Regions from separate parts of the Homo sapiens genome. Here region 1 is linked to region 2. The links are contacts of gene promoters, found by promoter capture Hi-C in blood cells and fetal thymus (Javierre and others, 2016). All regions are on one chromosome and are shown on one strand. The core of a region is centred on a gene start or on the middle of the fragment in contact, and the rest is flanking DNA. Distances in the headings are between cores, read along the strand shown.

Region 1 (2,700 bases), core at 84-2,583, 1.5 Mb after region 2:
CTAGAGATGATTTAAAGTATGTCGGAGGATGTGCATAGGTTACATGGAAACACTAGGCCATTTGATATAAGGTACTTGAGCATCACAGGTTTTAGTATCCGCGGGGTATCTGGGAAGGACCACCTTAGTTTGCTCAAGGAATGTCTAACTTGAGTTTTGAAGAAATAGAAAAAATCAGCCCTGGTAAAAGCCATGGGGGGTTCACTCTAGGCAGAAGGAACATCAAAGGAAAAGACTCAAGGAATAACTTGGCATATTTGAGGAAGAGAAAGGAGGCCAATAAGGAGGGTATCTGGCAAGGAAACAAGTGGTAAGAGAAACAGGAGAGGTAGCAAGAGCCAAAACATGTAGTATCTTGTAGGCCAGGATAAAACAACTGGATTTTAAGCTAAGAGCAATGGAAAACCAAGGGGAGTTTAAAGCAGGAGCAGGGCATGATTTTTTTTTTTTTTAAGATTATTTGGGTTGCTGGATGCAGAGCTGGGAGGCCAGTAAAGAGGAAACTGCAGTCACTCAACTGAAAGGTGATGATGACTTGGACAGGGGCTGTGGTCATGGAAATGAAGAGAAGTGGACAAATTTGAAATACACTCTTGAGGCTGAACTGACTGGACTTGCTGACGGACTGGATGTGTGGACATAAGAAAAAGGTGGGCTTTGCTTTATAACAAGTATTGAGACTGGAAAAACGGAGGAAAGCATAGATTTAAAGAGGAAAACCATGAGTTCTGCATTGCCCATGACAAATGTAAGAAGCCTATCAAATATCCATGAGGGGAAGTCAGGTGGGATCCCACTGTGGAACTCTGGGTGAGACTCAGCTGAAGTTATCATTCGGGAGTCAGCACACTGCATCACTCTACGTCCTGGTCCGTCCGTCTGTCTTCCTGGGACACAAATAACTGCCTTCTCCGAGTTCAACCCTGAACATCTGTATCCTCTGGACAACGGGGAGCGGGAAAAAAGCTACGCAGGAGCTTGGATCGGGCGAAGCTCGCGGGAAACCGCTCTGGGTGCGCAGGACAAAGACGCGGGGACAGCGGGGAGGGCCGGCCGCAGCCTGCCGGGCTGCCCCCACGGCGCGGAACGCGCGCAGCAACCTCCACCAGGCCTCCGCGTCTGGACTCCCGCCCTGCCTCTGGGCCTCCTCCGCCCACCGGCGGCGTCTCCCGCGAAGCCCGCTGGGCCTCGCTCTCACCCTCCTCCTCCTCCTCACGCCGGGCCTTGCTCTTGGCCTTGGATTTCTGGCTGCGCAGTTCGCGTCCCCGCGGCTCCCCGCCGGCCGCGCGTTTCCGAGCCATGTTGCTTGTCTGGGCAAATTCCACTTCGCGAGTGACGCACCCGGCCGCGATGCGCTAGAACGCCGGCCCCGCCCCGAGGCGGTGCGCTTGGCCACGCCCCTTCGTTGGAGGCCTAGTCACGCCCCTAAAGGAAGCTCCACCCCATACCCGTGGCCACTAAAAAACTGCGGGAAGCAGGAAAGAGCACAACAGGTTTCTCTCTATTTCCGGTGTATTGTATCCTCACGTTTCCGGAGATTGACGTTGCTCTTGTGTTCTCGCGAGAGGCGGGAAAGGGCGCAGGGTTTGAAACATGGCGGACGACGTAGACCAGGTAAGTGTATTTTAAGGAGGTCGCTCGAAGGAGCTTCTTGTACTAGGCTGCTTTTTCCAGACTCAGGAAAAATGGCCAGTCGTGCCTCCTCTCTCCAAGTCACCATGGCCTAATCCACCCTGTCCTTTCCGTAACCCCCCCTCCGAATTTTGCCGTAGGCCCTGAGACCTTTTCCTGTTAGAAGCCCACCTGATGACTATTCTCACACTCTTCGCTTCATTTTTTTAAATCTGTAGATTATTATCCTTAGCTACCTCATGGAGCTGTCAGGATTCCAATAGAAAGCCAGGTAATAAAGTTAGGAGTTGTTATCATTAGTGAGCGCAACAATTATTTATTCATTCAGCAGATAGAGTGAACATCAGCTTTGTATGGTTAGGCACTGTTCTAAGGGCCAGGGACACTGACATCGACATATAAGAGATCCTTGCCATTACTTGGAGCTTATATTTGCGAGGAGAACAGATAAAAGTAAATATAAATATGTAAGACTTCCAGGAACTGTGATGTGCTGTGAAGGAAACAAGGAACTGGTATGCAGAATAACAGATGGTCCTAGAAGCTTTTTCACCTGGTCTTTTTCTTCCTCAAATATCTTTGGAGATCATGCCACAACTTAAACTTTCTACTGAAATCTGACCTCCTCAGAGAGGACTTCTGCCCAAATAGCACTCCCGCTACTCTGGTTACCCTGCCTCATTTTTCTTCATAGAGAGTTATTTTTTCATATTAAATGTATGCATCTTTGTTTAATGTGAATCTCTCCCCACTAGAATGTAAATGCCATAAGAGCAGGGATTTTGTTTTGTTCATTCTTTTGTCTTTGGGGTTTAGAACAGTGCTGGAAACACTCAAAAAATATTTGAGTGAATGAGTTAGATGATCAGAGGAAGCCTCTTTGAGAAGCCAATATTTAAAGCTACAGGATGAAAAGAGCAGACAGTGGGCATCCCAGACAGAGGCTTAGGTAGCAGTAGGGCTTTTTCATGTGCATATTCTTACAGTATTATAATTATTTGTATGCCTCTCCACAGTAGAATGAGCTCCTTGAGGGTGGGGATTGTGACTTCTCTATCATTGTAATCT
Region 2 (2,700 bases), core at 37-2,536:
AATTCTTATCACACTGCATTGTTTTCACGCCTTAGGAGCGCAGGGAGGGCAGAGTCTCTCCACTCAGCCCACAGAGGACCAGGCAAGCAGAAACGCTCAATGAACGTGCCTTGAATTCATTTTCCACTTAGATTAAGTGACCCCCTAGAACCCGTTCACATCTCAAGGATACACTAAGTTCCATTCCTTCTTCCCACCACAGAATGAATACCAGGGGCACACCCAGAGCCCTAGAACGAGAACAATGAATGAACACGGCCGCCTCGCCTCTCACGACGTCCAAACCCCTCTCTCTTGGGCATCGACTCGCTCGCAGAGCCTCAGCAGCTGCAGAGCTGAAGCGTCCCGGCGGCTCTCGCGTCACACAAAAGACAGCCCTGGCTCTTCATTCCAAAGCGTCCTGAGGCCAATCCTCTATAAGTATCCCAAACCTTTCATTAATAACCCAGAGTCCTGATACCCAAGGCTAGTCCTGATACCCAAGAAGAGGCCCCTGTGCCTTTGTGGTAGGGCACTGGCCAGTTTCCTCCTCTCTTACCCGATTCCTCACGTCGTCTCTAAAAGGGTGTCACTTGACTGAAGTACCCTGAGAAAGGGTGCAAGCCCGGGTCCCACATTCGGCGGCCCAAGAGAAAAGGAATTGGCCCATCCAAGTGACAACAGATATGGGGCAGCTCTGGGCGGATTTTCCCACTGCCAAATATGAGGAATGCGCATGGCATAAGGGTGGCGTTGGCACGTTTCCGCCAAACACAAGGAAATTTGAGTGGGATGTGGGAACTCGGCTCGCCGGCCATGACACCGGACTCCGGGGCCCCCGCCCAACGCTACCCCAGGGTGACAACGGCCTGGCCCAAGCCCTCTGCCCGGCAGCCGCGGGGCCGCTCCATCAGCGCCACCCAGGCCCGGTCGCCCTGGAAGCCGATCCCTCAGCCCCGCCGCCCGGCTCCCCCGGCATCCACGACCCGGTCCTGCCACCTACCTGAGGGAGCCAGGCCGCCCCAACGTCCTGTCGTTCGGCGGCAGCTTCTCGCCCGCTCCTCCTCCCCGCGGCGGGTGAGGGAGCGGGAGGCGGTCACATTCGGCGCGTCCCCAGCCCAGGGGACGGAGCCCCGAGCAGCCCCCGCATCGTAGCAAACGCGCTCCGCGCCTCAGGGCACGCGCCCCAAAGCCCGGCCAGCTGACCCTTTTCGGGGCCCAAAAAAGGCAGCAGAAAGCCGTTCCCGCCTCACAATCGTTTTCCTCTTACTCCCGCCATCTAAGATGGCGGCCCAAGCGCCCGCGATTAAGACTCTCGGGCGGCCCAGACGAGCGAGCCCTCGACTCGGTGCTCGTCCTCCCGACCTGCGACGCCACCGGCTCTCCGATTCTGCGCGAGCCCTACTGGCAGTCGACTTCTAACTTGGCTCGGGCATCCATCGCTCTGGCCTGAACTCAGGCCCCGCCCCCGGGGCGTGGCCTAGCGATCTGGTGGCCGCCATTTCGAAGCTGAAGAGGTTAGGCGACGCTGACTTGCTTTCAGGAGAGGCACTCGGTAATCGAGAAGAACCGGCTTTCGGCCAGCCAGGAGTGGCCAGAGGCCTAGAAGGGGAGAGGAAGGCCTGCCTGCCCAGCATTGCAAGGCCCAGCGATCACCAGACGTGCCTCAGGACACAGGGCACAGTGTCCAACTTTGACGCGTCCTCTCCGGGCACTTTAATACCAAATCACGGCTCCGCCACTTGACAGCTATGTGGACAGTCCCTGAACCTTAAACGGTCTTTTCCTTGTGTGTAAATTCCGAGTTCATTTTTCCCCCATCACATTAGCAACAAGTTAAAAAAACTGATAATATCCGGTTTGGTCCAAGGTATATTGAAACCTGTTGTGTGCCCTCGCAGCGCTATCACAGTGGAACTTGGACATGTTAAAAGTATATATCCTTCCTCCCGGCAGTTTCACTTCTAGACACTAATTCTAGAGAAATAAGTATACACATACACAAAAAGCTATGTGTGAAGATATTTAATGCCATATTATTTGCATTCTGGAGAAACACTGGGGATGAAATGAAGATTAATAGGAAACTGGTTAAGAGAACGCTGCTACACATCCAATCTGGGTTGTCATCCATCCAAGAATGAACTAGATAGTTACTGAATTTAAAAAACAACAAAAAAAGGGCCCGGCGCTTTTTTTGGGATTACTCCTGTAATCCCAGCACTTTGGAAGGCCGAGGCAGGCGGATCACCTGAGGTCGGGAGTTCGAGACCAGCCTGACCAACATGGAGAAACCCCGTCTCTACTAAAAATACAAAAATTAGCCGGGCGTGGTGGCGGGCGCCTGTAATCCCAGCTACTCAGGAGGCTGAGACAGGAGAATCGCTTGAACCCGGGAGGCAGAGGTTGCAGTGAGCCCAGATCGCACCATTACACTCCAGCCTGGGCGACAGAGCGAGACTCCGTCTCGAAAAAATAAATAAATATAAAAAAATAAAAATACCAAATTAGCTGGGCATGGTGGTGCATGCCTGTCATCCCATCTACTCGGGAGGCTAAGGCAGGAGAATTGCTTGTACCCAGGAGGCGGAGATTGCGGTGAGCCGAAATCGCGTCATTGCACTCCAGCCTGGGCAACAAGAGCGAAACTCTTGTCTCAAAAAAAAAAAAAAAAAAGACATGGCTGGGCGTGGTGGCTCACGCCTGTAATCCCAGCACTTT

Evidence for each region. The method cuts DNA at HindIII sites, captures the fragments that hold promoters and counts their contacts. A CHiCAGO score of 5 or more calls a contact.
Region 1: the fragment with the promoter of XPC here is called in contact with the fragment with the promoter of RAF1 in region 2 in 1 of 17 cell types (total B cells); the score reaches 6.2 in total B cells.

What each region holds. Positions count from the first base shown.
Region 1 is chr3:14,177,268-14,179,967 of GRCh38, forward strand. It overlaps XPC (XPC complex subunit, DNA damage recognition and repair factor), which reads right to left and starts at 1,334. Exons shown (of 16, transcript NM_004628.5): 1 at 1,199-1,334. The coding sequence starts at 1,301. LSM3 (LSM3 homolog, U6 small nuclear RNA and mRNA degradation associated) reads left to right here and starts at 1,550. Exons shown (of 4, transcript NM_014463.3): 1 at 1,550-1,614. The coding sequence starts at 1,594. RefSeq lists a silencer at 974-1,093 and enhancers at 1,144-1,493, 1,594-1,643. The HindIII fragment of the contact is 5,126 bases long and covers 1-2,174 here.
Region 2 is chr3:12,662,831-12,665,530 of GRCh38, forward strand. RAF1 (Raf-1 proto-oncogene, serine/threonine kinase) reads right to left here and starts at 1,287. Exons shown (of 17, transcript NM_002880.4): 1 at 983-1,287. RefSeq lists enhancers at 369-979, 980-1,591, 1,203-1,552, 1,593-1,662 and a silencer at 793-1,012. The HindIII fragment of the contact is 11,087 bases long and covers 1-2,700 here.